Regions from separate parts of the Homo sapiens genome. Here all the other regions are linked to region 2. Evidence: promoter capture Hi-C in 16 types of primary human blood cells and fetal thymus (Javierre and others, 2016). All regions are on one chromosome and are shown on one strand. The core of a region is centred on a gene start or on the middle of the fragment in contact, and the rest is flanking DNA. Distances in the headings are between cores, read along the strand shown. Region 1 holds the start of PSMA5 (proteasome 20S subunit alpha 5). Region 2 holds the start of CFAP276 (cilia and flagella associated protein 276). Region 3 overlaps STXBP3 (syntaxin binding protein 3). Region 4 overlaps AKNAD1 (AKNA domain containing 1).

What was found. The method cuts DNA at HindIII sites, captures the fragments that hold promoters and counts their contacts. A CHiCAGO score of 5 or more calls a contact.
Region 1: a contact is called between the fragment with the promoter of PSMA5 here and the fragment with the promoter of CFAP276 in region 2, in 5 of 17 cell types (M2 macrophages, endothelial precursors, M1 macrophages and 2 more). The highest score is 6.4, in M2 macrophages.
Region 3: a contact is called between a fragment that was not itself captured here and the fragment with the promoter of CFAP276 in region 2, in 1 of 17 cell types (naive CD4 T cells). The highest score is 5.2, in naive CD4 T cells.
Region 4: a fragment that was not itself captured here is called in contact with the fragment with the promoter of CFAP276 in region 2 in 1 of 17 cell types (erythroblasts); the score reaches 5.5 in erythroblasts.

Annotation. Positions count from the first base shown.
Region 1 is chr1:109,421,952-109,427,878 of GRCh38, forward strand. PSMA5 (proteasome 20S subunit alpha 5) reads right to left here and starts at 4,497. Exons shown (of 9, transcript NM_002790.4): 1 at 4,351-4,497. The coding sequence starts at 4,379. RefSeq lists enhancers at 4,560-5,491, 4,998-5,057. The HindIII fragment of the contact is 5,034 bases long and covers 1,088-5,927 here.
Region 2 is chr1:109,110,775-109,116,942 of GRCh38, forward strand. CFAP276 (cilia and flagella associated protein 276) reads right to left here and starts at 1,973. Exons shown (of 5, transcript NM_001245025.3): 1 at 1,825-1,973. The coding sequence starts at 1,905. ELAPOR1 (endosome-lysosome associated apoptosis and autophagy regulator 1) reads left to right here and starts at 3,341. Exons shown (of 22, transcript NM_020775.5): 1 at 3,341-3,562. The coding sequence starts at 3,410. RefSeq lists a silencer at 3,093-3,162. The HindIII fragment of the contact is 3,574 bases long and covers 1,036-4,609 here.
Region 3 is chr1:108,784,084-108,790,116 of GRCh38, forward strand. The region is part of intron 11 of STXBP3 (syntaxin binding protein 3); the gene reads left to right. Among named protein-coding and RNA genes, the nearest start is that of STXBP3, 40 kb to the left of the region's middle. The HindIII fragment of the contact is 1,690 bases long and covers 3,446-5,135 here.
Region 4 is chr1:108,837,766-108,844,221 of GRCh38, forward strand. AKNAD1 (AKNA domain containing 1) reads right to left here. Exons shown (of 16, transcript NM_152763.5): 6 at 5,369-5,502. Among named protein-coding and RNA genes, the nearest start is that of AKNAD1, 16 kb to the right of the region's middle. The HindIII fragment of the contact is 677 bases long and covers 4,098-4,774 here.

The DNA of each region.
Region 1 (5,927 bases), core at 3,247-5,746, 310 kb after region 2:
TTATACTCATAAAAACTAGCCATGTAGACACTGAATTCAAGTTCCTTGACAACTAGCTCAGATAGCTACAGAATACGCACATTGTCATTATTCTCTACTTCGCCCACAACAATCTGTAGCATTTTTTTGTACATTAACAGTTTCTCAAGGCAATGGAACCTATATATAGAACACTTCTGCCTCACTCCCAGAAAGTCTTCCCAAATTGATGAAATGAGAGCAAATGACTTTTCTGCCTCAATCCTGAATCAACTTGGATCCATTCTGAATAGACTTACCAGTTCCTTTGGTAAGTTCATGCCTCAAAACTATCAGCCAATTTCCAAGAAAATGTGCATTTTTCCTTATCCTCTTCCCATAACATGCATATGACGTTAATACTTGGGGTTATCACTCTTCTTTCCATTCTCAATGCCCTCATTACCTTTCACCTAACGTTTGTAATAGTCTCCTAACAGGTATTGACTCGTGGAGCAAGTAGGAAGAGTTTTCCCCCTAATTCAGACAATCTCTATAAAACACAGTTATTACTTTTTTTTTTTTTTTTTTGAGACAGAGTCTCGCTCTGTCGCTCAGGCGGGTGCGATCTCAGCTCACTGTAACCTCCGCCTCCTGGGTTCAAGCAGTTATCCTGCCTCAGCCTCCCCAGCAGCTAAGACTACAGGTGCATGCCACCACGCCCGGCTAATTTTTGTATTTTTAGTAGAGATGGGGTTTCACCATATTGGCCAGGCTGGTCTTGAACTCCTGACCTCGTGATCCACCCGCCTCGGCCTCCCAAAATGCTGGGATTACAGGCATGAACCACTGTGCCTGGGCCTAATTATTACTTTTTACTAAAAGTTAGTCACAGGTACATTTCTCTACTTATTTGTATGAATTACTATTGTTATCTTAACAGACTGAGATCCATGTAGTTCCTAATTCTAACCTAGTTCATTCACTCAATATTTATATAACTTACATGTCAGACTGCTTTCCTCTCTAAACACTTCCCCTTAACACTTAACACTTTCCACCTTTCCTTGCTCAAGTGTGCTGGAAATCCCTACGGAGAAGAGGCACCAATCATGGTCTCAGCTATAAAAGCTTTGAGCACACAATGGACACAAAAAATATGTGAACAAATGAATGAGATGGTTGCAATCCGTGGTTTATGGAGTCCAGACTTTACAACAGGTAACATGTCATATAGTAGTGCTTTTGGCCTGGCGTGGTGGCTCACGCCTGTAATCCCAGCACGTTGGGAGGATGAGGCAGGCGGATCACCTGAGGTCAGGAGTTCGAGACCAGGCTGGCCAACAAGGTGAAACCCCGTCTCTACTAAAAACACATAAATTAGCTGGGCGTGGTGGCAGGTGCCTGTAATCCCAGCTACTTGAGAGGCTAAGGCATGAGAATCACTTGAACCCAGGAGGCGGAGGTTGCAGTGAGCCGAGATGGTGCCACTACACTCCAGCCTGGGAGAGTGCTAAGCACAAGTTACTTCCAAATCTCTACTACCAGTTTCACCTCTTTCCTAACTAATTTAAATGTTTGCTGAACATTTCCACTTGCATATCCTATTAGCACTTAACACTTAACGTTTTCCAGTTTGAAATATTATCTCTTTAAATCCAGCCACCTTGCAAAATTGACTTCATCTCCTGCCATTCCAATTTCAGTTTTAATTTAAAACATCTCAAATCTTCCAGTGTTCCCAACATACGAAGTTCTAAATGATCTGACTCATTCCTCCCCATCTTTTCCCATATCCAACTATATGCTAAGTCATACCAATTCATATCAATTCCTCCTCCACAGTAACACATCACTCTTCCTTCTCAATGCCCTCATTACCTTTCACCTAACTATTGTTAATAGCCTAACACTAACAGGTATTGACTCACTTTCCCCTAATTCAGACAATTAATCTCTGTAAAACACAATTATTATTTAACAGCACACAGTTGCCTACAGAAATAGGACCCAAACTCCTTAGCCTCGTATTAAAAACCATTCAATATCTAGCAGCATCCTGTTTTTCCCATTATCTCCTGCTGTTCCCATACACGTATCATATGTGCCAGTCAGACTGGACTTTTCCCAAAATGTATTGTGCTTTTCCATTGCCCCTCCTTCATTTATCCCATATTCTCCAACCCACAACTATTGATCTCACTGTCTTTATTAAATTCCTACTCTTTCAAGAAACCTAGTTTAAATGTCAGCTCCTTTGTGAAGTTTTCCATGATCGTCTCATATTGAATGCAATCCCTCATCAAAACTTCCATGGTATTGATTTGAATTTCTCTAATGGCATTAATATATTTCTGACTCACACTATAGTTACTTCTGTAAACAATTCTTTTTTTTTTTTGGAGACAAGGTCAGCGCCACCACACCCGGCTGATATTTTTTAATGTTTAGTAGAGATGAGGTCTCACTATGTTGCCCAGGCTGGTCTCCAACTCCTGAGCTCAGGCAATCCTGCCTCGGCCTTCCAAAGTGCTGGAATTACAGGCATGAGCCACTGTACCTGTAAACAATTCTTTAAGAGTCTCAGGCCGAGCGAGGTGGCTCTCGCCTGTAATCCCAGCACTTTGGGAGGCCAAGGCAGGTGGACCACGAGGTCAGGAGTTCAAGACCAGCCTGGCCAAGATGAGGAAACCCTGTCTCTACTAAAAACACAAAAATTAGCCGGGCGTGGTGGCACCGCCTGTAATCCCAGCTACTCAGGACGCTGAGTCAGAGAATTGCTTAAACCCAGGCGGCAGGCCAGGCGCGGTGGCTCACTCCTGTAATCCCAGCACTTTGGGAGGCCAAGGCAGGTGGATCACGAGGTCAAAAGATCGAGACCATCCTGGCCAACATGGTGAAACCCTGTCTCTACTAAAAATACAAAAATTAGCTGGGAGTGGTGGCGCGCGCCTGTAGTCCCAGCTACTCGGGAGGCTGAGGCAGGAGAATCGCTTGAACCCAGGAGGCGGAGGTTGCAGTGAGCCGAGATCATGCCACTGCACTGCAGCCTGGCGACAGAGCGAGACTCCGTCTCAAAAACAAACAAAACCCAGGAGGGGGAGGTTGCAGTGAGCCAAGATCACGTCACTGCACTCCAGCCTGGGCCACAGAGCGAGACTGTCTCAAAAGAGTCTCCTATATGCGAGCAAGGAGCTTGATTTTGTCCATTGCTGTAGCACCAGCACCTAGAACAGTGCCTTGTTCACAGCAAGCACTCAAGCACATTAACTAAGAGAATAAAAAGGGATGTATTTTAGGCCGTCTTGGGAAGACAGAAAAATAAGTAACAAAGCAGTCAATACATATGTTAAGTAAATGGCCACAAAATTTAATAAATGCCTTCTGATAAGCATAACAATTTCTATCATACACACCCTAACTCAAAATTATGTCACCCGAAGATGATTCTCTTCAATGTTCTGGAAGTTAAATATCGACCAACAAAGTCACTTTATAGGACAGTGGGGAAATATGTCAAAACTTCACACACATCTTCTACGAGTCAGTAAAAAAGATGAAAAAGTGGTAACTGCAGGTGGTAAAACTTCGACAGGATCAGCATATACTTGACAGGAAATGCAGCATCTCATACCACTCAGTACAAAGAAAATGTCTGCCTTCCCTGACTTTAAAAAAGAGTAGCTATGTAAAAACTTAACTGACGAAAACAGAAACTGAAAGTAAAAATGTCTACAGCATATATATGTACAACTTAATATTGTGAACATTTTCATACCACAAAAGTTTTTTAAAACTTGCTTTAAACTTTTAAAAAGTCAGAAAAAATTTTGGTCAATTGGAATCGGCATGATGAGAAATCTCTTGAAAACCATTCTAAATTCCAGTTCCTATAAAATCAGACTCCAGACAATATATCCAGCCAAAGCTACGACTGCCTTCGCGCTTCTGAAGAAACTATACACCGCAGCATGCCCTACTACAAACCAGTTGCTTTTTCTTCCAGGAAGCACGTTTAACTTTTTGTTTGTTTGTTCAAGGCAGTCATACTAGGCACGAAAAGATGAACGGAGCAAAGAGTGACCCTTGGCCTTCTCCGGGTTCAAGGTAGGAGTTCCGGCTCCTCACGCCTTCTTTACCAAGCACCAGCCGGAGCTTCTCGCTTCCGCACCGAGTTAGGACCCAGGGGTGACTCAGCGGTAGGACAAGTGCCGCCGATGTGGTCTAGCTTGGGGAAGGACGGCGGGCGCCTGAGGAGGGCATAACATCCCCAGGTCCGGCCAGTCTCGGGTTCCTGGGGAGCCCCATGACACGGCAGAACCCAGGCCGCGCGGCCAGGTCCCGGGCCTGCCCACCCATAATTCCCACCCGACGTCCCCCAGCTGCACGGACCTGTCGTACTCAGACCGGGTAAGAAACATGGCGAGGGTAGGAGGAGGCAGCGGCTACGCGGGGATTCTGAGGACCAACACGACTCCACCGGCACCCAACTCACCGGCAGCCAACTCACCCACACGGCCGCAGTACTAAGGACCAACTGCGCGTGCGACCGCGACCTCTTTAGCCCGCCCTCCTGTGCCTGCTTCCTATTGGCTGGTAGTAGTTCCCGCCTAGGTGATTGGGCCAACGCGCTTCCTCACGAGGGCTTGGTTGGTCCGGAGGAGGAGGAGGACCAGGGAGGTACTTCCGCCTTAAATCGCGGGTGGTTGCTAGGGACGATAGGCACCCAAGGCGTGTAGTGAGTTCGCCTTGTAGAGAAGATGTGAGCCCGCCCCAAGACTGGCAATTGGAAAGGCTTGCATGCAGAGCTGGGTTGTCTGAACCCTGACATAATAGGTCCCTCGCCGGCTCCCGTAATCCCAGCTAGAGGACTTTGGTCCCGTTTCCGGCAAGGCCACCACCTGACTTCTCTTCGCAGGATTCCCTCTCTTAGGGTTCCTCCACGGTGTTCTCCATGCCCGGTCGAGGGCTCCAGGACTTTGGGCGGTAATGAGTCGGCTACAGTGGGTCTGAGCCGGCGCCGCGGACGAGTCCCTTCGTTTCAGCCAGTTTGGCTCGTTTATTGAGAAAAGTGGGGGGCGAGGGGTTAGTATGTAAGAAAGTCTTAAAGTTTCCACATGGTTAAGGTAATTTTATCAACTCTTTCTTGCACCCCTCCCCCTAGTACAGGTTTCAGACCTAAATAACCTAGAGTTCAGGATCCAGACTTCAAAATATTCACTGCTTTTTCTGTTGTTTGTGAAAAATAAGTGTTTTCTTTGAGCCCAGATCGTGCTATTGCACTCCAGCCTGGGCAACAGCCAAACCCTATCCGAAAAAAAAAAAAAAAAAAAAAGCGCTTTCTTTTTCGACGCTTCTTGCTTCCCTTCAATAAGTTGCTTGAGGAGCAACTTTGCAGCTTCGTAATAACACTGTAATTCAAGTATTTGTTCAAGAAAGGCAAGTAAGAAGTCTTGGCACGGGGGTGGGGAATATAGGGAAATGTTGGTCAAATGATACAAAGTTTCAGTCAGAGAAGGTGGATGAGTTCTATAGTTAATAATCATATATTGTGTACTTGAAATTGTGAAGAGGGTACACCTTAAATGTTCTCACCACAGGAAAGTATGTGAGATGATGGATTATGTTGATTAGCTTCATTTAATTATTTGCAGTGTGTGTGTGTATATATATGTATATCAAAACGTCACGTTGTATACCATAAACATGAACAATTTCTATTTGTCACTTACACCTTAAAGCTGGAGTCGGGGGAAAGAAATCATTTATCAGGCAGTATATGCTGGAAAGGGAAATGCCAGCATCTCATTTCCAGTTGTTAATGTGATACCACTAGTCAAGTCCTTAACCTCTCAAGGCCTGTATCTCTCCAGTAAAGTTCATTCTTGGTCCTAGATTAGGTTTGTAAGTCACCAAGGCATTTCAAAGGTGCAGGAAATGTAAAAATAAGCCTTTTGAGTATTAACCAA
Region 2 (6,168 bases), core at 723-3,222:
CTTCACTTAAATATACCACAGTCACTACAAAAACATCTACATAGTTGATGTTTCTCAACATCTTTCTCCCCAAACCTGCTTCCCCAGGATGCCCCATTTCAGTGAAACCTCAGAATTAAACCGTTAGGAACCCAGCAGCTATCCTAGACTCACCTCCTCTCTTGGGCCCATGTCCAGTCAGTCTCCAAGTCCTGTCAGTCCTGCCCTGTGCACCTTTCTCACATCTGCACCTGATCACCACCCCCTGTGGCACTGCTGTAGATCTGTTACTCTTCCTCCTGGAGATCACCTCACCTGCCTCCTAGCTGATCCCTCTTGTCTCACTCTCATCCTATCCAGTCTGCTGCCACTTGTGCTTCCTAAAACACCCATCTGATTGTGTCACTGTGGTACTTAAAATCCTGCTATGGGGCTGGGACCCATGGCTCATGCCTGTAATCTCAGCACTTTGGGAGGCCAAAGCAGGAGGATCACTTGAGGCTAGGAGTTTGAGACCAGCCTGGGCAACAAAGGAAGATCCTGGTTCTACAAAAAAATAAAATAAGAATTAGCCGGGTGTGGTGGCATCACCTGTAGTCCCAGCTACTTGGGAGGCTGAGGTGGGAGAATTGCTTGAGCCCAGGAGTTCGAGGCTGCAGTAAGCCAAGATTGCACCAGTGCACTCCAGCTGGGGTGACAGAGCAAGGAGACCCTGTCTCAAAAAAAAAAAAATATCCCACAATGATTCCTCACATCCCTAGGATGAAACCATAGCTAGCTAGCATGGTGTACACAGCACACCCAGCCAACCAAGGGCATCTCTCCAGCTCTGATTTCTGAGTGCTTCCATTGCACGCCTACACTCCAGCCCTTCTAGACTATTTGCAGTTCCCCAAATAAGCCATTCTCTCTCTCCTTTCCATGTATTTGCACCTGCTGCTTCCTTTGCCTTGCATATCTGGTTCCTGTTTCCTTCTTCCTAACTCACATTCTATCCACTCCCTCACCTGGCCTACCTAACTCATATTTGGACATCAAAATGCATCTGCTCTGTGAAGCTTTCCTTTAAGTTCCTGGTTCTCACGGCACCCTGCACACAACTCTGTCACAACATGTGCTATTGTGCAAGCATTTTTGCTATTGTCGGTCTCTCTTTACTACTAGAGTTCCTTGACAGCAGAAGCTACATCTAATTTATTTATATATCCTTGGCGTTTAGCAGAGTGTCTGGCTTATAGTAAATAAGTATTGAATAAATAAAAAGGGGCTCTCAATATTGTTATTAGACCACAATCACCACTTAATTCATCTTATTGTGCACCACTTCATATATCCCAATCACTTCTACCAGAAAAAAGATCATCTAAGTTCCGAAATCAGTGTCCACCATCATGCTAAACACACACATAACAAACATATTGTGGTGTTAACCAGAAGACAGAGACAGTGTGAACACAGATGTGTAAAGCATGACCTCTGGTGGCTTTCAGAGGATTCTCTCCCACTCCATATCTCATTTCTCTTCAGAGAACAGTCTTCCAAATAGGGAAATGGGTAGCTTGAAGGAACCTGGGCACTGCCATAACTTATACTCACAATTGATTTGAGCTGCCAGAGCCCCTTGTTCCTCTAGACTAGAACTCTACTTTCCTCTGCTCAAAAACGCCTCTGAAACGTTAGCCGACTTGAATATGGAGATAGGGAGGCAGGCAGAAAACAGACTTCCCTGGTACCCGACTGAGTGTCTTCACCAGAGTCCTTTATGTTACCATCTCTGCTCATCACACAGACAGAAAGAAGACTACCGGCGACCCTACTGGGAATCTGCGCAAGAAACCACAGTACCTTGGAAGCCCGCAGTTCTCCTAAGTAGGAATCATCGTTATCTAATGTAGGCTGCTGGAAAGGGTCCCGGGTGGGAGGCATGGCTAAATGCCTAACTCTTTTAAGAGGGATGGGAGGCCCGCTCAGCCGCAGCACAGCCTCACTGGCATAAGATCCCGGGTCCCAATTGTTTGGAGCGCTGGTTTCGGTTGCCAGGCAACTGCCCAGCCATCTATGACAGAGGAATTCCCTCAGAGGAGGGCGCCACCTGGCGGCTGACCACGGGAGGCCCCTGGGGAGGAAGCTCCGGGGACTGCAGAGGGAACGTTCCGCTGAGCGGGCCCGAGACTTGGAATTGCACTCCTGAGCCTCGGCGGAAAAGTGCTGGCTGCTCACCATCAGGACTTCTGCAAAAGACTTCAGTTGAGGAAAGAAGTCCTGAAAGATGACCCAGAAATTTCCTTCTCCCTCGCACCTAACAAAAGGCTTTCAAAGCCATGAGAGAATGAGGATGTCAAGAGACCAAAGAGGGCCGGGCGCGGTGGTTCACGCCTGTAATCTCAGCACTTTGGGAAGCGGAGGCGGGCGGATCGCTTAAGCCCAAGAGTTCGAGACCAGTCTGGGCAACATGGCGAAACCCCGTCTCTACAAAAAGTAGGAAAAAAATTAGCTGGGCTTGGTGGCACGCGCCCGTAGTCCCAGCTACTCGGGAGGCTAATCCAGGAGAATCTCTTGAACCCGGAAGGCGGAGGTTGCAGTTAGCCGAGATCGCGCCACTGCACTCCAGTGTGGGCGAGAGAGTGAGACCCTGTCTCAGAGAGAGAGAGAGAGAGAGAGAAAGAGAGAGAGAGAGAGAGAGAGAGAGAGAGAGAGAGAGAGAGAGAGAGAGAGGCCCACGTGCGGCGCTTGGGAAATTGCGGCTAAGGCAAACTCCTCGCTTAAACTCGGATCAACTACAGTGTCAGGGCTTCTCTTCTAGCCGGTTGTAAAAGCACGGATGGATTTGGCGGGATGTAAGATCTCCAGGAGTGGCCTTCGTAGGAGGGAACACGTACTGGGGCCTCTTCCAGGCGACGACGTCTGGAGGGTGATCTCTCCATCTTCTTTCTCTCGGTTCACACGCCACGTGTGCAACATCGGAGATGCTCATAAAATAACCCCTGGCCCGAAAGGGCAGTAGAAAACGGAAATTTGTTGGCTGGCTTGGAGGATGCTTCCACTGTGTTCTTCACACGAGCCCCGGGCCTGCCTGTTGGGCCGGTTGCGCACCCCGGGCGCGCGCTCTCCCGCGCCCACGCCGCGCGCACCAGCGGCGGCGGCTGCCATGGCGACCCGCAGGTGAGCTGCAGAGGCGCGCGTGGTCCCTGCCCCACCCGCGCGGAGCCAGAGAGGAGGCGGTTGTCAAGGCGACGTGGGTAGGAGGAGAGGACAGAGGGAGGAGGAAGGATGGGCGGTGTTGGCGTAGCCGCAGGGAGGTGACTGAAGCGAGCCTGGCCTCTTGCATCCTCCGCCTGTGTACCTCCCTCCCCTTTTTTTCCGCCTTCTGCCAGCAGAAGCAGCAGCCGCAGCACCTGAGCCGCTACTGCCGCTCACTCAGGACAACGCTATGGCTGAGCCTGGGCACAGCCACCATCTCTCCGCCAGAGTCAGGGGAAGAACTGAGAGGCGCATACCCCGGCTGTGGCGGCTGCTGCTCTGGGCTGGGACCGCCTTCCAGGTGACCCAGGGAACGGGACCGGAGCTTCATGCCTGCAAAGAGGTACTGCCGCCCCCCTACCCGATCCCGCTTTGGTCACAAAAGTCTTGGATCCAGGCGGAGACCTTGGGGACCCAGGCGCAGAGAGTTTCAGACGCCACGGAGTTTAGATTTCTTTGGGGATGAGGCGTGGGGGGAGGGAAGAGGAGCCAGTCTGGCGTCATGAGGAGGCCAGCACATTGGAGGACTCACGGATAGATCATCCTCACAGATTGGGATGCTGAGCTCAGCGAGAAAGGTCCCAGCCCCAAGAAGGGGAGCTACCTGGGTACCTGAACTCAGAATGAGGGAGGCAGACGAGTTATTTTCCAGTTAGGATGAACTCACCTTAAAAGTGGTTGACAAGAAAAGATTATGCACAGAGAAGCAAAATAGGAAGAGGAAAGAAGAGTAGTGGGAGAGGAAAGGAGTTAGGAAGGCCAGAAAAAAGTATCAGAGCGAAGTGGTTTTATCATGGCTACACAAAACGGAGTGTGAAGGTGGGAGATGTGCGAGAGGGATGATAGGATTCCAGCTCTCTAGTTCCTTGTTTATTAAACATCGGTTAGTGCAGACTGTAAAATGTGTCTCCTCCTTATAGCTTGGCCTCCCCGCAGCGTACTATGTTTAGTGTACCTGACAGTACACGACTCACCTTTTTGCAGATTTTGAGTTCTTCAATATCTTGTGTTCTGCCAACCTCTAGTCTCCTTCTCTGACTTAACATATGTCAAAGTCTTTTTCAAGGTATTTCCAATATGTTGGAAGCAGAATTCAGACAATAGGTAGTCAATCTCTTATAACCAAAAATAGCTTTTGAAAAGTCATCTTGGAGGAACATAAAAGGGCACTAGCAGCAACAAAACTAAGTCATTTCTATGTTATTGAAATAACAATATTTGGTTGTGCTCTGAGCAACTTTTTTAGAAACCATATGGCAGAGGCAACAATAAGATATTTACAAGAACTACGTTGGGGAAGGCAAAATAAAAGTTCTGTTATTTCTGTGAAATGTGAAGGACTTCATAAAAAGTCAAGCATCTAGCTCTGTAAATTTAATCCCAAATATCAAGCTTGACTAAGGTTTTGAGAGGTTAGAATATATATATAGATGTATTTTCTTTACTTTAAAAAATATATGTTTTAAAATAGAAATGAGGTTTCGATATACTGCCCCGGCCAGTCTCTAACTCCTGGGCTCAAGCGACTTCCCACCTCGGCCTCCCAAAGTGCTGGGATTATAAGAATGAGCCACTGCGCCCAGCCCAGAATATTTTTTATAAATTGTTAGTGTGAACTGATTGGCAACAACTCCATCCCATATGGAGATAAATTCTTATAAAGATGTTCTGTGTCTACAGCACAGCAGGTCATAAAGAAGTCAGGTGTGGGGGGGAGGATTTTTGTGTGAATAAAGATACTTGATTTTGAAGATTCATGAATATGACATAAGTGACCCCAGTGAGTGGGACTTTTGATAACCTTTATTAGCTCCAATGACAACCTGCCCTGGGCCATCTACATTTCCACCTAGCCGCATTATGACCTGTTTTAGAGATCGCAGGGAACAGTATGATCTTATCAGTGACTGGCTCACTGGCCTTGATGGCCTGTGGTCTAACCAACCAAAATAATGAGACCAAGAAAGCCCACTTGCCTAAGAATCAAACAAGGGAGTTTCCTGAGTGGAAGGTAAGAATCATACAGTTTAACTACCAATTCTTGTTGAGATCTTTGTCAACAATGGAAAATATGAGACATTTCAGAAATTAAGCACTTCTATTATCTTGGTTTGGAGGAAGGGAAGAATATTGATACTTGAGAACTCGAACTTGTGTACGAATTTTGCCTTTGGTCCTGTTTGAATAACCAATATTTGCCTAAGCAAAAGGTCTTGCCACAAAGTGTAAGCTTAAGGTAGTGGAAAGCTATGGAGCTCAACCTACCAGGGTTTCAGTCCTGTTACTTACCACGTGGTTTTTGGATTTGTAGAATGGGTATCAAAATAACACCTACCTCAGAAAGGATTGCTTTGAGTATTGAAATAGAAAATACATTGGAAACACAAAAGAGAGTTACCCACCCTCCTTCTCTGTTCAGCTTCTTTCCCATTAGATCCACACCCCATGCCAGATTGGAAATGGCTTAGGAGGCATGCCCATTTGCCACAGGCGTCAGCAAGTCCTGTTTACATTCTCCTTGAGCAAACAGTGGCCATTGAACACCCTCAACTCCAAAACAATCAGGGAGAGAATAAACCCATTATTATAGTATTCATTTGGCAATATGAACTGATCAAACAAGTTTGGGGGCTTCCAACCCCAAATGGTGAAAAACCAATTCAAGGTAGACCAGCTCTTCTCTGTTCTTTTTTTTTTTTTTTTTTTTTGGTGAGACAGAGTCTGGCTTTGTTGCCAGGCCAGGCTGGAGTGCAGTGGCATGATCTCGGCTCACTGCAGCTTCCACCTCCCAGGCTCAAGCAATTCTCCTGCCTCAGCCTCCCAAGTAGCTGGGATTACAGGCATGTGCAACCACACCCGGCTAATTTTTGTATTTTTAGTAGAGATGGGGTTTCATCATGTTGGCCAGGGTGGTCTTGAACTCCTGACCTCAGGTGATCCACCCGCCTT
Region 3 (6,033 bases), core at 3,041-5,540, 320 kb before region 2:
TTTTAATGAAATCTAATTTATCAATTTATTTCTTTTATACTTTCTCTGTGTCCTTAGAAGTCTTGGCTTACCCTGAGGTCATTAATATATTCTTCTGTTTTCTTCAGTAAGGCTGATCATTTTAGCTTTTACATTTAAGTCTGTAATTCACTATATTAGTCCATTCTCACACTGCCATGAATAAATAGCTGAGACTGGGTAATTTATAAAGAAAAGAGGTTTAATTGACTCACAGTTCCACATGGCTGGGGAGGCCTCAGGAAACTTAACAATCATGGCAGAAGCCACCATGTCACAGGGAGAATGAGTGCCAAGCAAAGGGGTAAGCCCCTTATAAAACCATCAGATTTTGTGTGAACGCACTATCACAAGAATAGCATGGGGCAAACCGCCCCCATGATTCAGTTATCTCTACCTGGTCCTGCCCTTGACATGTGGAGATTATTACAGTTCAAGGTGAGATTTGGGTAGGGAAACAGAGCCAAACCGTATCATTCTGCCCCTGGTACCTCCCATATCTCATGTCCTCACATTTCAAAACACAATCATGCCCTTCCAACAGTCCCCTACAGTCTTAACTCATTCCAGCATTAACCCAAAAGTCCAAGTCCAGAGTTTCATCTGAGATAAGGCAAGTCCCTTCTGCCTATGAGCCTATAAAATCAAAAACAAGTTAGTTACTTCCTAGATACAATGGAGGTACAGGCATTGGGTAAATACACCTGTTCCAAATGGGAGAAATTGGCCATAACAGAGGGGCTTACAGGCCCCATGCAGGTCCAAAATCCAATAGGGCAGTCATTAAATCTTAAAGTTCCAAAAGGATCTCCTTTGACTCCGTGTCTCACATCTGGGTCATGTTGATGCAAAAGGTGGGTTCCCATGGCCCTAGGCAGCTCTGCCCCTGTGGCTTTGCAGGATATAGCCCCTCTCCCAGCTGCTTTCATGGGCTGGTGTTGAGTGTATGCAGCTTTTCCAGGCACATGTTGCAAGCTGTTGGTGGATCTACTATTCTGGGATCTGGAGGATGGTGACCCGCTTCTCACAGTTCACTAGGCAGTGCCCCAGTGGCAACTATGTGTGGAGGTTCCAACCCCACATTTCCCTTCTGCACTACCCTAGCAGAGGTTCTCCATGAGGGCTCCATCCCTGCAGCGAACTCCGGCCTGGACATCCAGACATTTCTATACATCCTCTGAAATCTAAGCAGAGGTTCCCAAACCTCAGTTCTTGACTTCTATGCACCCTGTAAGCCCAACACCACGTGTAAGCCACCAGCTTGCACCATCTGAAGCAATGACCTGAGTTCTACTTTGGCCCCTTTTAGCCACAGCTGGGATGCAGGGTACCAAATCCCAAGACCACACAAAGCGGCAAGGCTCTGAGCCTGACCCACGAAACCATTTTTTCCTCCTTGGCCTCTGGACCTGTGATGGGAGGGGCTACCACGAAGGTCTCTGACATGCCCTGGAGACATTTTCCCCGTTGTTTTGGTGATTAACATTTGGCTCCTTGTTTCTTATGCAGATTTCAGCAGCCAGCTTGAATTTCTCCCCCGAAAATGGGTTTTTCTATCATATCGTCAGGCTGCAGATTTTTCAAACTTTTATGCTCTGTCACCTCTTGAATAAATGACTGCTGAGAAGTTTCTTCTGCCAGATAACCCTAAATCATCTCTCTTGAGATCAAAGTTCCCCAGATCTCTAGGGCAAGGACAAAATGCCACTAATCTCTGCTAAAGCATAGCAAGAGTCACCTTTGCTCTAGTTCCCAAGAAGTTTATCATCTCCAGCTGATACCACCTCAGCCTGGATTTGATTATCCATATCACTGTCAGCATTTTGGCCAAAATCACTCAAGTTTCTAGGAAGTTCCAAACTTTCCCACATTTTCCTGTCTTCTTCTGAGCCCTCCAAACTGTTCAACCTCTGCCTGTTACCCAGTTCCAAAGTTTCTTCCACATTTTCAGGTGTCTTCACAGTAGCACCCCACTCCTGGTACCAAAACTGTATTAGTCCATTCTCACGCTTTTATGAAGAAATACCTGAGACTGGGTAATTTATAAAGAGATTCAGTTGACTCACAGTTCCATATGGCTGCAGAGGCCTCAGGAAACTTATAGTCATGGTGAAAGGCACCTCTTCACAGGGTGGCAGGGGAGAGAAAGAATGCCGAGTGAAGGAGGAAGCCCCTTATAAGACCATCGGATCTCATGAGAACTCACTCACTATCACAAGAACAGCATGGGGGAAACTGCCCCCATTATTCAGTTATCTCCACTTGGTCCTGCCCTTGACGCGTGGGGATTATTACAATTCAAGGTGAGATTTGGGTGGAGACACAGAGCCAAACCATGCCATTCACTCAAATTAATTTTGATTTATGGTGTGAGGTAAGGGTCTAGCTTCATTTTATTTCGATATACATATCTGATTACTCAAGCACTGTTTATTGTAAAGACCATCCTTTCACCATTGAGTTGCAGTAATGCATTTGTTGTGAATCAAGTGACCATAAATGTGTGGGTCTGTGGACTCCATGTCCTTTTCCATGGTCAATTTGTCTATCCTTGTAACAAGACCACACTGTCTTAACTAGTGTACCTTTGTAATGGTTTTGAAATTTGGTAGTATAAGTCTTCCAGCTTTGTTCTTCAAGATTGTCTCAGCTGTTACAACCTTTGTCTTTTAATACACATTTTAGATTCTGCTTGACAATTTCAACAGAAACATTTAACTGAAATTTTGATTGGGATTACATGAATCTGTACACTAATTTGGGAAGAACTGACAAAAATATTGCATCTTCTGATCCAAGAACATAGAATATAGCTCCACTTATGTAGATAGTTTATCTCAGCCGCATTTTATAATTTTCATTTTAGTGGTATTGCACATTTTTTCTTTATTTCTAGGTATTTGATTTTTTGGTGTTATAAATGGTATTTTTTAAATTCCATTTTACTTTATTAGTATATAAAATGTGATTGATTTTTGTATATTTACCTTGGATCTGGTGACCTTGCTAAATTTATTTTTTAATTCTAGTACTTTGTTTATAGATTGGCTTTTTTGTTTTTAAGAGATCGGAACTCTGTTGGCCAGGCTAGTCTCTGAATTCAAGCAATCCCCCCACCCTTGCCTCCCTAGTAGCTGGGACTACAGGCAGGTACCAGTGCACCTAGCTGGATTTTTATATACACAGTAATATAATCTGTGAATAAAGAAAATTTAGTGTCTTCCTTTCTAAATTAATCTTCCAGAGGTGTCCAAAGGAGAGAATACAGTCATGGGTTCTTAGTTTCTGTTTCGGCTAGTAAAGTCCCTTCCTTATCCCTCTTTTCCACTTATCACTAGAGACAGAAACTAAAAACCATGGCTTCAGGCTGCAAAAAGCCTAAAACAAAACAGAACAACAACAACAACAAAATAAGGTGGGTTAGACAAGCTTGTCATACGTTTAAAATTTTTTTTTTTTAGTAGTTAATACCTCCTGGTTCTGGCTGATACCTCCAGTATAACATGAAATCAAACTGGTGATAATGAGCGTCCTTGTCTCATTCCCAGCTTTATGGGAAATGAGTTCAATATTTCATCATTAAGTATTATGTTAGTTTTAGGTAGTTTTCTTTTATCAGATTAAGGATGTTCCTTTCTATTCTTAGTTTACCAACAGGTTTTTATGTGTTTCTGTTTTTTGTTTTTTTCTTTTTTCTTTTTTTTAAGAGACAGGGTCTTGTTCTGTCACCCAGGCTGGAGTGCAGTGGTGCAGTCTCAACTCACTGCAGCCTCAACCTCTTGGGCTCAAACGATCCTCCCACCTCAGGCCCCCAAGCAGCTGGAATTACAGGTGTGCACCACCATGCCCAGCTAATTTTTGTGTGTTTTTAATAGAGACAGAATTTCACCATATTGCTCAGGCTGGTCTCGAACTCCTGAGCTCAGACAATCCTCCTGCCTCAGCCTCTCGAAATGCTGAGATTACAGGCGTGAGCCACCACACCCAGCCTGTTTCTGTTTTCTTTTAATCAGGAAATTTCGATGTTGGATTTCATCAAAGGCATTTTGATATTGTCTTTTTTTCCCCTTTATTCTGTTAATGTGATGAATTACATTTATTGACTTACTAACATAAAAGTAACCATTTCTAGAATAAACTCCACTTGATCATGATGCATCATCCTTTTCCTCTATCACTGGATTTTGTTTGCTAATATTTTGTTGTAGGATATTTGCTTCTATATTTATGAGAAATACTTTTCTGTAATAGTCCTTTTTTGTAATGTTCTTGTCAGGTTTTAGCAGCAAGATTTTTTTGGTCTTATGAAATGAATTGTGATGCACACTTTGTCATTCCATTCTCTGAAAGAGTTTGTGTAAGATTGTTACTGCTTGTTCTATTGCTGCTTGAAAGAATTCACCATTGAAGCAGTTCAGGCATAGAGACTTCTTTATGGGGAGGTCTTTCGTTATAATTAATGATAAGTTATTTAATAGATATAGAACTATTTAGTTTTTTACTTTTTCTTCATTAGTTTTGGGATATCGCATTTTTCAGGGAATTTGTCTATTATATCTAAATTTTGAAATGTCCTCTTATCCTTTCAATATGTGTAGAATCTATAGTTAGATTTTATTTACTAATCTTGCTATTGTTAATTTGTTTATTCCCCTATATATTATTAATATCCCCTGCAGTCCGGGCACGGTGGCTCACGTCTGTAATCCCAGCACTTGGGGAGGCCAAGGCAGACGGATCACCTGAGGTCAGGAGTTTGAGACCAGTCTGGCCAACATGGTGAAACCCTGTCTCTACTAAAAAAAATACAAAAATTAGCCGAGCTTGATGGTGCCTACCTGTATCCCAGCTACTCGGGAAGCTGAGGCAGGAGAATTGCTTGAACCTGGGAGACGGAGGTTGCAGTGAGCCAAGATAGTGCCACTGCACTTCAGCCTGGAGAAAAGAGTGAGACTCCATGTAAAAAAAAATAAAATAAAATTCACTGCATATGTTATTAATATTTCAAAGAACCAACATTTGTCTTTGTTGATTTTCACTCTTGCATGTTTTATCTTTAATTAGCTGATTTTTACTCAGTTTTATTTCCTTCCTTCAGCTTACTTTGTTTTAAATGAAGCTTGTCCAACCTGTGGCCCATGGGTCACATACAGCCCAGGACGGCTGTGAATGTGGCCCAACACAAATTTGTAAACTTTCTTAAAACATTATGAGATGTTTTTGTGATTTTTTTTTTAACCTCATCAGCTATTGTTAGTGTATTTTATATGTGGCCCAAGACAGTTCTTCTTCCAGTGTGGCCCAGGGAAGCCAAAATATCGGACACCCCTGGTTTAAATTTTTTCTTCTAGCTTCCTGAGTTGGAGTTTTAGAACATTGATTTCCAACCTTTCTTCTGTTCTATTGTATATATTTTATAGTTATTTACATCTTCAAACTTAGCTGCATCCCAGGAGTTTTGGAATAACTTATTTTCATTTAGTTCAAAACATTTTCTAACCCTTATTATGATTTCTTCTTTGACCCATGTGTTATATAGGGAATACGTTTTTAAATTTCAAAGCATTTGGGAATTTTCTAGTTATCTTTCTGTTACTGAGTTGTAATTTAATTATACAGTGGTCAGAGAATGTGCACTATATGACATCAGTCTTTTAAAATATGTTAAGACTTGATTTATGGGGCTGGGCATGGTGGCTCGTGCCTGTAATCCCAGCACTTTGAGTGGCCAAGGCAGGCGAATCACATGTGGCTAGGAGTTCAAGACCAGCCTGGCCAACATGGCGAAACCCCATCTCTACTAAAAATACAAAAATTAGCCATGTGTGATGGCACACACCTGTGGCTCCAGCTACTCAGGAGGCTGGGCAACAGAGTGAGACTCTGTCTCAAAAAAAAAAAAAAAAAAATTGATTTCTGACCTAGCATATATTATCATAAGTGCCCTATGTGTACTTGAAAGGAATATAAATTCTGTATGTGTCAGTTAAATCAAGATGGTTAATCATGTTCAAA
Region 4 (6,456 bases), core at 3,186-5,685, 270 kb before region 2:
AATGACAGTTCTTGAATACAGCATTGATTTATATTATTAATGTGGCCTGTCTTCTGTCACAAAGGATAATGGGAGCCCGCATGACTGTTCATAGTTTCTCTGACAGCCTGGGCTCTGATCTTCACCTGCTGTCCATTAGCTGCGTATCCTTGTATAAATCACTTAGTATTTCTGGGCCTCCAATGTCTCACTTATAACCTGGGATAACAATATTGTACCTTACTTATCTGGATTTGATGATTTTGAGATCCCTTACAAGGGATTCTAAGAACTGTGATTCTATGGAATTACTTGTTATGCTAATTTAAAAAGAGGAAGAATATTAGATATCTGAATAATTTAATTAACAAGTTCTAATCCATATGAATATATGTGTATGTGTATATAAATATATATTTTACCCAACAAAGAGAATCCATTTTCTTCAAATCCATTACATTTATAAAAATTTACCTCGTAACAGTCCACAAAGGAAAATTTCAAGAAAATCCAAAATATTAAAAATTATACTACCTACATTCTCTTATCACTAGACATTAACAACAAAAAGATAGCCCCCCCCCCAAAAAAAACCCTGTTTAATTAGAAATTTTAATACCTAAATAGCTTTGGATTAAGTAGGAAATAAAAATGAATGTTAGGCATAACTTACAAGTCAATGACAAATGAGAGAATAACATAGGAAAACCAATGTAATGCAGTTAAAGCAGTACTCTGAGGAAAACTTCTAGTCTTAAATGCATTATTGGGGGAAAAAATCAAAAATCAATCAACTATTTAAAATAGGAAGATAGAAAAGGGAATATAAAATAAACCACAGAAAAGGATTCATAAAATTACTAGAAATAAATGAGACTTAAAAGAATTTGATCAATAAGATAAAACATGTTTTCTTCCAAAATATCTATGAAACAAACCACTGGAAGTCTGAAAAACAAATAACATTAAGAATGAGAAAGGAAAAATAGGAAAAATTTTAAATCAAAAGGCATTGAAAAATCCATATCAACACCATTTAAAATTTAGGTGAACTGGGCAAGTTTCTAGAATAATATAAATTATTAAAATTCACTTTTAAAAAAGTAGAAAATATGAAAAGACCAACAACCAGAGAAAAATGGAAAGTGTTAAAAATCTACTCCATGAAAGGCATGAAGAGTGGGATAATGGGTGAGTTCTACCAAGCCTTTTAAAAAAAATTTCAATGTCTCTAATATGTTAATTTTTATGTATTACATAGTTTAAAATGTAATTTATAACAGTTTGAAAGCATATATTTCAACATATATTTTTAAAGGAGAAATTTAAATCAAGTATATGCAGACCCCGAAGCACGTGTATAGAACCTTGGAGTTCACTAAACATAATTCTACCAAGACTTTTAAGCAACAGATAAGTCCTATATTATTAGACTCTTCCAGAACATGAAAAGAAAAGGGGCCCGGCGCGGTAGTTCACGCCTGTAATCCCAGCACTTTGGAAGGCCGAGGTGGGTGGATCACGAGGTCAGGAGATCAAGACCATACTGGCTAACATGGTGAAACCCCGTCTCTACTAAAAATACAGAAAACTTGGCGGATGCTTGTAGTCTCAGCTACTTGGGAGGCTGAGGCAGGAGAATGGCGTGAAGCCGGGAGGCGGAGCTTGCAGCGAGCCAAGATCGCGCCACTGCACTCCAGCCTGGAGGAGCGAGACTCCGTCTCAATAAAAAAAAAAAGAAAAGGGAAAATTGCCCAACTCATTCTGTGGTTCAACGTTAGTATATTTATTAACATATTCCACTAAATTAATAGATTAAAGGAGAAAAACTAGATTTCTAAATCCCATTTGATTAAACATTTTCTTGAATTAAATAACAACAAAAGCCCTAATTCTAGAAAGCTAGGAATAGAAGAAAACTCTCTTGATGAAGCTTATCTATTTGAATCATACTTAGGAGAGTTCTCATTATTATTAGTAACATGACAAGAATGCTGTCTTTTATGGCTCACGCTGGTAATCCTAACACTTTGGGAGACCACAGTGTGGGAGTATCACTTGAACCCAGGAGTTCGAGACTAGCCTGGAAAACATAGGGAGACCATGTCTCTACAAAAAAAATTTTTTTTAATTAGCTGGGAGTGGTGGCATGCACCTGTAGTCCCTGCTACTCAGGAGGCTGAGGTGGGAGGATCCCAGAGTCCAGGAGTTTGAGGTTGCAATGAGCTATGATTGTGCCACTGCATTCCAGCCTGGACAAGAGTGAGACTTTGTCTGAAAAAAAAAAAAATGCTGTCTTTCACTAATATTAATTATCCAATATTGTTCTGGAAAACCTAGCAAATGAAATAAAGAAAAAGAAATGAGATAGATAAGAATTGGAGAGAAAAGAAAGTACAATACAAATATTCTGGAGTAAAAAGCTTATTAATATTTTCAGATGCTATGGATTGTCATACTTAAAAATTAAGACAATCAACTAAAAAATCAACAAAACACTAAGAAGAGAATTGCATAAGGTAGCCCAGTACAAGTTAAATATACAATATGGAAATACTTCCTATGACATCAATTAGAGAAAACATCTGTCGACAATACTCAGAACACTATAAAATAGCTAGTAATAAACCTAACAAAAAAATGTGTAAAATCTGCATGAAGAAAACGTGATGGGAATACTTACTACAAAGATTTCAGTTCTTCCCAATCTAACCTATAAATTCAATACATTCCTAAGCAAAATCCTCATGAAATTTTATTAAGAACCTTGGTGAGCTGATTATAAAGTTTATTAGTAACATGAGTGTATAAGAATAGCTATAAGAAAATTTTAAAAAGAAGAAACATTTCTAAATATACACTAACCTATAATAGTTTATGTGGATAATGTAGAAATAGACACATAGATCAATGGGATGGAATAGAAACAGTTCTGTATACATGTGGAGGTTTTGTATCTGATATAAGGGGCTTTTTCAACCAGTGGGGAAAGGCTGCCCTATTCAATAAGTGGTGGGACAAAGATCTAAGCATGAAAAAAACAAAGTGATAATTGAATAAAATATAGGAAACTATGTTGGGATCTTGCAGGCAGAAGAGAATGAAACAGGGGACAAGGAGAGACTGAAAGTTTAAAAGAAATGAGCCCGGGTACGGTGGCTCATGCCTGTAATCCCAGCACTTTGGGAGGCCAAGGTGGGCAGATCACTTTAGGTCAGGAGTTCAAGACCAGCCTGGCCAACCCGGTGAAACCCCGTCTTTACTAAAAATATGAAAAAATTAGTCAGGCATGGTGGCATGCACCTTTAATCCCAGCTATTCTGGAGGCTAAGGCAGGAGAATCGCTTGAACCTGGGAGGTGGAGGTTGCAGTGAGCCGAGATCGCGCCACTGCACTCCAGCCTGGGCAACAGAGCAAGACTCCATCTCAAATAATAATAATAGTAATAATAAAAATAATAATAATAAAAGAAATAAAATGATGGAGCAAGGCCTCAAGGAAGTAGAAAGGGATGGGTTCAAGGACCATGGCTAGAGAGGTTGGAGAGCAGACTAAGGAAGGGAGAGGAGGTGAAAACATGGGGATTTGGAGATAGAAGAGACATTTTTGAGGGAAGTTGTGATCTTTTCTTTAAAGCAGAACATAAGATTTTATGCTGAGACTCTCAGGGAGAAGTGGCTGATGAAGGTAGAACCCCATTTCTTGAATTCTTGGCTTCTGAAGTTAATATGTGAAAGAAGCAAATTACTATTGGACTACATTCTGACAAGCAAGATGCATGAAATCCAAGCAAATATTTTTGCACATTACCTTGTAAAGGTAATAATGAGAAGGCTTTAATAAGAGCACAGCAGGTGATGTAAACAAAGGACTAGTCAATGAATTTGCAGAATTCTTGCCCCTCCAGAAAGCCCTCTGCATTAGCCTTTGGACTCAACACTTATAAGGTTCTCGACATATCAAGAACCCAAGGGTTGTATGGGATTCTGTTCCTTGTCACATTATGCCCATTTGAGAACAAGGGGACTATTCTGGAGCTGATCAGTCTTTGCCTGTCCTGAGGTGACTTCAGCCGAGATTTGGGAAAGTCTGGGTCCCTCCCTTGCCCCAGTGTTGAAAGCTTCTCCCATATATGGAATGTAATTGCAGTTGAAGCTCTTTTTATTTATACTCATGCCAGGCACAGTGTGGCTGTAACTAGGATATAAATAAGACATTGAATAACTTTGGTCTTAATGTGCACAGAAACCTGTCTTTAAAATGACTGCCCAAGCAGAAGATTCCTTGGAAAATAAATATCCTTACTCTATTAATTTTAAATAGCAGAAGCATGCAGAGTTCTTTCTTCCTCTCCCCCCAAAAAAAGCCTTTGGGAAAAAAATCAATATTAAAACCTCATCCTTACTGTCTAATTACTCAGTGCTGAAATAAAGGTAGACAGAGGTTCCATTAATTTTGGAAAAGTAAAACCATACCTTGGGGAAAAAAATGCCACAGAACGCTAGGGCTGAAATGTAAACCATTAAAAAATTTGGCAACAACAATTCCATATTAAAATGCTATGAATAGAAAGGGCTAAACTCACAAATATTAAGCCTACTAAATAGTTTCTTTTAATTTATACCAGGAAATTATAGGGAAAGAATCCTCTCCTTGAGTCCTGGAATACAGCTTAAAATTATCTGGAATGGAGAAAGGAGAATACAGTGCCATAAAAACTACCAGTTAGAAACTTCAGTTTGGAGTGTGTGTTCAAGATTCTAATGTGAATTAACTCAGAAATCATTTAACTTTAAGCTTTCACGCTTTTCCTTTATCAGGATTTGTAGGTCCCTCACCCTGACACCAATTAACTTTACAATGACCCCCTCCTGCCCAGTGTGCCTTGGAATTATCAGTGAATGGGAAAGAAAAGGGGAAAGAGAGGGACAGAAGAGAGAACCAGGCAAGGACAATAAAGGCAGGTGTGGGGAGAGATAGATAAGAGAGGAAAAAGCTGAGAGGGAGAGGAGAGGAGGAACTTGAGAAGAGGGCCCTCTGTGGTTATCATGTGAGCCTTTCTAGGGTTTTCTTAGGCTCCTCTGGGTCTCCAAACCAATTATAATGATATTCAACAAATTGCAAAATTTTGGTACAATGCCTCTGCCCCAGGAAGCATTTGTTCATTTTGGGTGTTCCATCTGAGTCAATGTCCAGCACAGCACCTTACACTCAACAGGTCCTCCATGCTGTCTGTGGTATTAGGTGACACTTTGTTCATTGGTGACACAGTTTCTGCTGACCCTAGACCAGTGGCTCTCCAAGCACTAAGCCAGCAGCCACATCAGAATCCCACCTGAAGGAGATCACCTTTGACCCTTCCACCTTACACAGTTGGTTTAAATCTGACCTTTCTGGATCAAAGTCACCAACGATTGTTGATTCGTGCTTGTGGACTTGCTGCTGCAAAGTCAGATGCTTGTCCTTGGTGGCCAGAAAGTTCTGCTCCAGCAGTTCAAGGTGTCCCTGCAGTTTCTCCAGGACCTGCAGCGGTGAAGTCACTGGAATCATTCACATGCAAGCCTGTGTGTGTAATTGTTTTCCCAAAAACACAAAGCAGGTGTACCCTACAGTAGTGTCAAAACAAAGCTGCCATCCTTCTCCCAGCAGCATAAATTGTTTTGTCTCAGAGTCTGACATCTAAACTACAGACAACCCAAGGGTCATCTCAACATTCACAAACCCTCACAGCACACAGCTCAAAAGTACAATTACTTCTGATTTCTCTCTCAGAACCCACTCAGAGGCCTCTGGCCTTCCTTAGTGGGACATTCATAATCCTGTATATTTGCAGAATGGTTTTTAGCTTACAAAGCATTTTTCCATTCCTCATCTTATTTAATCAACACATCAATGTTGTAAATGTAGTAAAGTATATTTTATTATCCCACTTTTACAAAGGAGGAAATTGGAGCTCTAGCAATATGTCTGAAGGCACATAGATCTTAAAAAGGAACTGTAGTTACATGGCCTGGGTTTCAGTCTGTGGGGAGTTGGAGGATGAGATGGGGAAGGAACAGCAGGAAGATTTAGCCAAAGCTGTGAATGGGTCTTCCAGACATCACTACGTGCAGCCTCAAGCAGATGAATGTTTAAACTGTGCGGGTTAGGGGCATGTTGAAGATGTATGGAGGCTTCAGTTCCACATCCCCAGTCACTAAACATTCCCTGAGCACTTTCTATTTCTGGCCCTGGGCCAGAAGTGTGAGATTAAAAAATTGCATCAGGCACAGTTCCTGGTCTTAGAGATGTTATTCCATTGAGAAAAGAGACTGTGGCTTAGAGTACTTAGCCAAAGGCCAGGCACAGTGGCTCATGCCTATAATCCCAGCACTTTGGGAGGCCGAAGTGGGCAGATCATTTTAGGTCATTAGTTCAAGACCGGCCTGACCAACATGGTGAAACCCCATCTCTATTAAAAATACAAAAATTATCCGG